2 separate regions of the Homo sapiens genome follow, and region 2 is linked to region 1. The links are contacts of gene promoters, found by promoter capture Hi-C in blood cells and fetal thymus (Javierre and others, 2016). All regions are on one chromosome and are shown on one strand. Each heading gives the region's core, a stretch centred on a gene start or on the middle of the fragment in contact. The rest is flanking DNA. Distances are from core to core; before and after follow the strand shown. Region 1 holds the start of TMEM108-AS1 (TMEM108 antisense RNA 1). Region 2 overlaps NPHP3-AS1 (NPHP3 antisense RNA 1).

Region 1 (4,676 bases), core at 1,794-4,293:
CTGCAATCCCTGTGCTTTGGGAGGCTAAGGCAGATGGATCCCTTGAGGCCAGGAGTTCAAGACCAACTTGGGCAACATAGCAAGATCTCATCTCTACCAAAATAAATAAAATTATTAAATAAATGTTTGTAGGTTGAATGAATGTACCTAGGAAAATTTCATCTATAACAAAGGCAGCCAGTGAACAAACCTATTGGTCAGTAGTGGCTCTTAGTGGAGAAAAAAATAGTGACAACAAAGGCTTCCCTTGAGAATTGGAAACCATAGGCCTGCCCTCTTGTGGTTTTGGTTTTGATTCCTATTAAATATGCAATATGAATAACTCTAAGATGCCATGTAAATAAAAATAGTTCCAGTTGGTAACACCTTCTGGGACCCAGCTAAAACAAATGGAAATTCTCTTGGTAGGAAAATGTTCTCAACCAAGGTGCCTCAAGATACTTGCATATTAACGTCAGTCGAATATGTGATCTCAGTAAAAAGTTACCAAATACATAAGAAAGCAAGCTATGATAAGCAAGACTCAGCAAAAGGGAGAGGAGAAAAAAAAGAGATTGATGATTGATTGATTAAGACTGCCAAAAACTTAGAATTATCAGATACTGAATATGAACTACTTGATATTCTCATAATCTATTAATGTTTAACAATTACCCCAGACCTTCGTGGCATAAAACAACCATGTATTATGCTCATGGAGTCTGTGGGTCAGTGACTTAGGATATAGGAAGAATGATTTGTCTCTGTTCCATGTTGTCTGGGTCCTCAGCTAGATGGCCTGAAGGCTGAAGTGACTTGACAGCTGACTGCTGCAATACTCTGAAGTCTCATTCATTCATATTTCTGGTGGTTCATGCTGGCTGTGAATGGGACCTTAGTTGGAGTTATCAACCACACACCCAAATGTGGCCTCTCCATGTGGCCTTGACTTCTTCACAGTATGTTAATTGGTTCCCAGGGTGTGTGCAGAGAGAACCAGATAGAAGTCATATAATCCTTTCTAACCTACCTTCAGAGTCATGCAGCATCACTTCCACAATATTTTACTCATTAAGGAGATTACATGGCCTAGCCAGGCTTGAGGGAAGGGAAAATGTATTTCATTTCTTGATGAGGATTGGCAAGGTTCTGAGAAGGCATTTGGAGCCAGAGTATTGTTGCATCCATTTTAGAGACAGTCTGTTACACTATATAAAAATACTGAAACAAAAGATGGAAATAGGGGAGGAAGATTATGAGACGATAGACTACTCAACTTGAAAAAAGACCCAGCTACAACTTACAAAATTAAAAACATGTAATTATTGGAATTTAAAATTCAGTGGATGGCTTAACTAGCAGATTAAACATCTTCTTTAAAAATATCAATGTACTAAAACAGAGCTTAAGAAATTACTTGGAATATACTATGGAGAAATAAGAAAGTAAAAAAATGAGAAAGGGTAATTGAGACACAGAAGCTAGTATGAGAAGGCCTAACATAAGTACAGGTGGGGGTTCAAGAACGAGAGAATAGAGACAATGGGGGAGACGTATTTGAAAACATAATGGCTTAGAATATTTTCTAGAATGTATGAAAGATATGCATACTCAGATTCTGGGAATACTGTGAGTCTCAAAAATAATAAGGGCTGGGCGTGGTGGCTCACGCCTGTAATCCAAGCTCTTTGGGTGGCCGAGGTGGATAGATCACCTGAGGTCAGCAGTTCAAGACCAACCTGGCCAACATGGTAAAACCCCATCTCTACTAAAAATATAAAAATTAGACAGGCATGGTGGTGCACGCCTGTCATCCCAGCTACTCAAGAGGCTGAGGCAGGAGAATTGCTTGAACCTAGAAGGCGGAGCTTGCAGTGAGCCGAGATCATGCCACTGCACTCCAGCCTCTGCACTGGCTGACAGAGTGAGTCTCCTTCTCAAAAATAAATAAATAAATAAACAACAAGAACTGCATGCATGCCTGGTTATAAAAACAGCAAATAAAGAGATAATCCTAAAAGCAGCCAGAGGAAAATGTTCCTTATAAAGGAATAATATTTAAACTGATGGTTGACTTCTCAACAGCCACCACAGAATCAAGGAGACAGTGAAATAATATCTTTAAAATGCTGATAGAAAACAACCAGCAACTTGGAATTAAAGATCTGATCAAATAATCATTAAAGCACGAGGGTAAAATAAAGACATTTTCAGATATTTTTTAAAGTAGAACATTTTCACAGATGGACATTCATTTACAGAACTTCTAAAAGATATGCCTCAGGAAAAAGAACATTTCTTCTGAGAAACAAGGTCTTAAATATAAGAAGGAATAGCCAGCAAAGAAATTGGCAAACATAGTAGTCAACCCAAGCAAACATTTTCTGTATGAAACATATAATAATGTCTAATATGTGGGGTTAATGAAAAACAACACAGAATAAATATACTAGACAATAATAGCAGTTAAGTTGGGAGGGGATGAAGAGAATCAAAGTCTTATAAATTCCTTGTATTGTTAGGATGGAAAATATATCAATTAACTTAGGCATAGTCAAGTTTTAGTAGGCATGGCAAAATTTCAAGGAAACTACTAAAAGACATAGAATTCATAACTTCCAAACCAGTAAAACAGAACTATTAGAATAAGAAAGAAAAAACTCAGTCCAAAGGAAGGCAATCAAGAAGGGGAAAATAGATATAGAGAAATCTGGATAAGTAGGACAAGGCAGAAATAAATCCAAATGTCAGTAAGCACAGTAAATGTAAATGGACCAAACTAGCCAGTTAAGTGCTCCACAATTCACTTCATGAAATTACTATAACCTTAATGCAAAAGCCAGAAAATGATAGTATGAGAAAGTAAAATTACTGAGTCAGTCTTACCCGTGAACATAGTTCTAAAGTCATGGCTTGGTGAGAGGGATGACAATCATGAAACTGAAAGGGAAACAGTGCCTGTACTTACCATCCCTGATGTCAAAATGCCTGCAAGGACACTGCCTTCCTTTAGTTTATTTCTTGGGTAGAGACGACAGGAGGTCTTTATTGATATTATCTCATTTGAGATTGTCTCTTAATATTCATAACCTAAGGCTGCTATACAGTGCCTGTGTTATATAACAGCACCTCTTTTACAACTCAGGATGTCACAGTATTATGAGTAATGAGGTGCTTGTGGGAGTTATTGAAGGATTAACTATAGACTTGTAACCAATCCAAGAATTGCAGGAGATGAGGCACCCTCGTAAAGAATTTATCAAAGTAATTTGTCTATGTTGCTGTGGACAGATTACATTCTTATTCACTCTCTGAAAGTTTATTGCCAGTCTCTGAGTAGTTACAAATGCATTATTAATAATCCTTAGAAAAGCAATACATTGTTGCATGGCTTAAGCTTTGCTCGTGTCTAGAAATTTGGAACAGTTGAACCTGACTTCATTTCACTGCCTCTTAAAACTTGATCCCCCTGAAACAAAACCTAAAGAAGTATTGTGTTTCTCCCTCTAAATTCAGTGAATCTACTTGTCATTTATTCAGTGGTATTTGAAAGCTTAAGTTGGCAAATTAGACTAATATTAAAAACTTAGATATGCCTCTCTTCCTTCCCCATCTTTGAGAGCTGTTACTGAGTAAAGGAGCAAATGAAAAGGGATGAAACTCTCTGGTAGTTAAGTAGTGTATCTAAACTAAGTGGAGTAGATACTGCCTAGTTGTAAACTTCAGCCAGTTGTCTGTTGAGAAAGACAGGTGCAGGGGCTTTTCTTTTTTATTTTTCATGCAACAACTTACTTAGTGTATAACACTGAGCTATCCCTGTTTGGAAGAAGCCAGAGGCCCAGAAAATTTTTGCTAAAGGAGGGGTTGCTTTATGTATCTCCTTTAAAGGGAGATGGGTAGGACAGGATTCAGATGCTCCTGAGTCCCATAGTGAAAATACCATTTATAACCTGCTGTAGACTGTATGTTTATGATCCCCCCAAATTCATATGTTGAAACCTGAAGCCCAATGTGATGGTATTTGGAGGTGGGGCCTTTGGGAGGTGATTAGGTCATGAGGGTGGATCCCTCGTGAATGGGATTAATGCCCTTATAAAAGAGACCTTAAGGAGCTTTCTCACCCCTTCCTCCGTTTGAAGACATGGTGAGAAGGTATGGTCTATGAACCAGCCAGCGGGCCCTCACCAGAAACTGAGTCTGCTGGCACCTTGATCTTGGGCTTCTCAGCTTCCAAAACTATGAGAAGTAAATTGCTGTTGTTTGGTATTTTATTATAGCAGCCCTAACAGACTAAGATCCTCACCATAGTTTCCATCAAGCTACAAGAAGGGCATGTTGTGAAGGCAGGAAAGCATACCATGTGGTGGGCCCAGGCTGAAAGGAGCCAGCTGCCCACACCACCTCGCTTTTGATAAAGTTGGATGGAGGGGGGTGATGGAAGTCCAAAGGAATTCCTTAGGTGTTTGTGTCTCACATCCTTATCTCTGAGGCAGCTGCTGCCAGCTCATCTCCCTGTCCCTGCAGCTCAGAGGGCAGAGAGGTGCATTCCCTAGAACCAGTCAGCATTCAGAGCTGTTTGGCATCACCACTGCCTCATACTGCTATTCTTCATCCTCTTCAGACTGTATCCACTCTGACTCAGTGGTCATCCCCAAAACTTTGCATGAAGCAAAAGGAACTCTTCATTCAGACAGAGA
Region 2 (4,215 bases), core at 1,551-4,050, 530 kb before region 1:
CCGCACACCAGTCTCTCCTTCATTCCCTCCATCAAAGTGGCTAGTCATCTCTTCTCTTACCCTTTAGATTTTCTTCAGGAAGTAGTCATACTAGGCCTTTGCATTCTTCAAAATCCAGAGTGTATATACTAATTTCTTCAGGTGGTCTCCTGAGATAAAGGGAAATATTTCCACCATCACAGTACCTTAAGAACTTTCTACCTTTTCAAATCCGTTCTGATTTCTAACTTCAAATTTTTGAATTCTCCATGTGGATCAGGGGTTTAAGGATCATCCACTAGGTTTCTGACTAAACCCTTTGAACATTTTTGCATCTTAGTACCTCCTTTGGAATGGGCCTCAGCTGAACACTTCCATAACTATGCTTGAGTAAGAAGATAAAATAGCCATCACCCATTCTCTCCAACAAATAACCAAACTCACTATGCTAACTTCCTACAGCTTGGGGAGTACATTCAGATTCTACAGTCTGGAACTGAGTGCTCTGAAGCATGCATCTCTCCTTTCCCCACGTCATTTCTATCCAGTGACATGCCTCTAATCCACATTTCTCCACCCTACTTGCGTACTGATCTTAGATTACTATTGGTCAATGCCAAAGTGACCAAATTTCTTAATCCTAAAAAATGACATTATTTCTTCCTGGCTAACACGGTGAAACCCCGTCTCTACTAAAAATACAAAAAAATTAGCCAGGCGTGGTGGCAGGCGCCTGTAGTCCCAGCTACTCGGGAGGCTGAGGCAGCAGAATGGCGTGAACCTGGGAGGCGAAGCTTGCAGCCGAGATGGCGCCACTGCACTCCAGCCTGGGCGACAGAGCGAGACTACGTCTTTAAAAAAAAAAAAAAGACATTATTTCTAACCTCATAACCTGTTTTTCTTCATGCTGAATTTAACCCACGTACTTCAGTCTGCATTTTGAAAGAATAACTTTTAATACAGAAATATAGTGAGAATAAAATATTTGGCAGGTGGCTTATAACTTACTAAAGATGGCCACATTTTTTTTTAATAGTCCTCCCATAGAAAAGACAGCTAAGACAGCTACACAATTTGTGGGACCCAGTGAAAAATGAATATGTAATGCCCCTTATTCAAAAATTATAAATATTTTCAAGATGGCTACAGCAGAGCATTAAGCCAAGTATGGGGCCCTTTTGAGTTTTGGGCCCTGCGTTACTGCACATGGGGTTGCATGGCCATGAAGCAAGCCTGTATATGACTCCTCACTTTGAACCTGAGTGAACTCTGACCGCTTGGACCAGTGGAATGTGGCAGAAATGACACTGTGCCAGTTTCCAAGCCCAGGTCTTGAGAGAATGGCGACTTCCACTTCTTGTGTCTTGGAACACTCGGGAGTGTTGAGCCACCATGTAAAGACTTACTAACCTGAGACTGCCCAAATTAAGAGGTCATATGTAGGCATTCCAGGTGACAGTCTCAGCTGGGCCCAGCTTTCCAACCAGAGTACCAAGACATGTAAAATGAAGCCATCTTGGACTCTTCAGACTAGTGCATTCACTACTTAGAAATTAAGTGACTTCTGTATACACTACAGGGGAGAAAATCACCCAGCCAACCTCTGCCCACATTTCTGGCCCACAAAATCATGAGATATAATAAAATTACTGTTGGTTTGAGCCATTACATTTTGGTAATTTGTCTTTTCACCTGGAATAAGAAAAAATGTCTCTACATTTGATCGGGCAGCCTATAAATTGATAAACAATGCTACTGTCTTTTTTTTTTTTTTGAGACGGAGTCTCGCTCTCTCGCCCAGGCTGGAGTGCAGTGGCACGATCTCGGCTCCCTGCAACTTCTGCCTCCTGGGTTCAAGCGATTCTTCTGCCTCAGCCTCCCGAGTAGCTGGGATTACAGGCGTGCACCACCACCCCCGGCTAATTTTTTTGTATTTTTAGTAGAGACGGGGTTTCACCATCTTGGCCAGGCTGGTCTTGAACTCCTCACCTCATGATCCACCCACCTTGGCCTCCCAAAGTCCTGGATTAGAGGCCTGAGCCACCGCACCCGGCCTGCCATTTTTTTTTAAATGGGATTGGTAGAATAAATATCATTTGGGTAGAGTAGTGTGTATTTGGTCTTCAGACTATGAATCTCACAATCACTTGGGACATTTGGTAAAAATTTGGGGACCTTGACAATTTTGCATGTTTAGTTACTTCCCAGGTGATGCTTATGTACTTTAGGATCTCAGAACACTGAGACTGCATAAAAATTGTGGCTAGGGATGATCTAATTCCTCGCTACTCAAAGCATGGTCCTCAGGCAGTAGCATCAACATCACCCTGAAGCTTGTTAATCAGATTCTCACATGCTATCACTGACCTCCTGAATCACAATTTGCAGATTAAAAAGATCTCCCAGGTGATGTGAATATAGATTAAAATTTGAGAAGCACTACTGTAGAAAAATGGTTCTTAACCTTGGCTGCACATTACCATCACCTGGAGAACTTAAAAAAATAAAGACTGCTGCCTGGGCCTCACCCTAGACCAATTAGATCAGAATTTCCAGGAGTTGAGGTCTGAACATCATTAATTTTTTAAAGCTCCCCAGCGGATTTTAATCAGTAGTCAAGGTTAAAAACCAATGGTTTCACCTCGGCCATCTCATTATTGCCAACATGTGTGTGATCCCCATTGGTAACCATCTCAGTATCTGTTTACATGTATACAGATTCCTCTGTGACCTTTCTTCGCAGTTCATCATAGTGAAGGCAAATGTAATTTTGACTATATCGATAGTATTGTGCTTCAACTTTAGAGATAGACATGGCATCACAAATGGTCATAATGTCCTGATAAAATTTATCACTTTGGAATAAATGACCTGTATAATTGGAAATGCTTCATTGAGTAACAGTCTTTGAAGACAAAGGAACTCTGCAAAAGGAAGGGATTCTAGCTCTCACCAAAATTGCCAACCTTCTCCCAGGCTGTTTAGTCCTGCTCAGTTCTACCAAGTGAACTCTGACTTCTAAAGTCTCCTACTACAAAGTCTGTAAGTATGACCCTAATTTTAGGAACTAATTAACAATAGGGGAAAACTGTGATCAAGCAGCTGTGATTTAACATTTCTACCATTAGGGGTCAGTGTAACTCAGGAAAAAAATAATTTGGCTGTATGTATTAAAAAGGATCACCTTGTGAAGACGACAGTCTGGGTGTTGCCTTCATTAACAGTCATCTACACTGCCTTACTTAGTTCCCATCACAAGTAATAACATGACTCTGGAAATTATTATGAAACAGACAAGAGTAGGATCAGCAAGCTTTTTCTATAAAGGACCAAATAGTAAATATTTCAGTCTTTAGTCTCTGTCACATTACTCAATTCTACCATTATAGCACAAAAGCAGCCCCACACCATACACAAACAAATGGCGTGTCTGCATTCCAGTAAAACTTTATTTTAAAAAACTGGTGACTGGTTGAATTTAGCTCACAGGTTTGCTGACCCCTGAACTGGAGGAGTGGTTCTCAAACCTGGATAATTACCTGGGGAGCTTGTTAAAAATGTAGAGCCATGGACCCCACATCAAGTCCACCGAATCCAAATGTTTTTAAGTAGAGCTCACATATCTGAATTTTTTAAAGTTATCTTTTGATTTAGAAGCAAATACTAATTTAGGAACCATTAGGACAAAATAAAGTTAACTTTACCTCTTAGGAAACCGTAAAGTCCACCTTGTTACAATGTTTTTAGTATCTGAATAACTATCCATGGTATAAAAGATATAAATGTGAAGCTTAGGCTTAGATAATCTCTATAACTACTCTGAAAGTACATCAATGAAAGGCTCATTCCTCTGTAAATGTTTGTATTAAGGCCCTAGTGTTCAGATTATTTTGGCCAGAGAACAACCCAGCCTGTCCTAACAGACAGAGGGGCATACTGAATTAAATTGAACAAGGAAGGAGAAGACATTGATGAAAACAGTAAAGGAGAAGGAAAAGCGATAAGAGAAATGCTGGAGTGCTGTGTAGTATCTCCTAAAAAAATGTCCCAAATGTTCAATAAGTTTACAAATTCTGAAAAACTTGCTGTGACCTATTTTTTTTTTCAGGAATTGGTGAAGAAGAGGAGTTTAGTGCCAAGGTGGGTGCAAGAGTGAAACAAAGGCAACACATCCACATGCACTGGACAGGGAAATGGGGTAAGAATATTTTAAATATGGGGTATCCATTCTTTTAT

The links. The method cuts DNA at HindIII sites, captures the fragments that hold promoters and counts their contacts. A CHiCAGO score of 5 or more calls a contact.
Region 2: a contact is called between a fragment that was not itself captured here and the fragment with the promoter of TMEM108-AS1 in region 1, in 2 of 17 cell types (megakaryocytes and endothelial precursors). The highest score is 12.0, in megakaryocytes.

Annotation. Positions count from the first base shown.
Region 1 is chr3:133,254,078-133,258,753 of GRCh38, forward strand. It overlaps TMEM108-AS1 (TMEM108 antisense RNA 1), which reads right to left and starts at 3,044. Exons shown (of 3, transcript NR_110812.1): 1 at 2,948-3,044. All of the region lies in intron 3 of TMEM108 (transmembrane protein 108), which reads left to right. The HindIII fragment of the contact is 5,600 bases long and covers 1-3,374 here.
Region 2 is chr3:132,723,406-132,727,620 of GRCh38, forward strand. It overlaps NPHP3-AS1 (NPHP3 antisense RNA 1), which reads left to right. Exons shown (of 11, transcript NR_002811.2): 2 at 4,088-4,177. Among named protein-coding and RNA genes, the nearest start is that of NPHP3-ACAD11, 3.1 kb to the left of the region's middle. The HindIII fragment of the contact is 980 bases long and covers 2,311-3,290 here.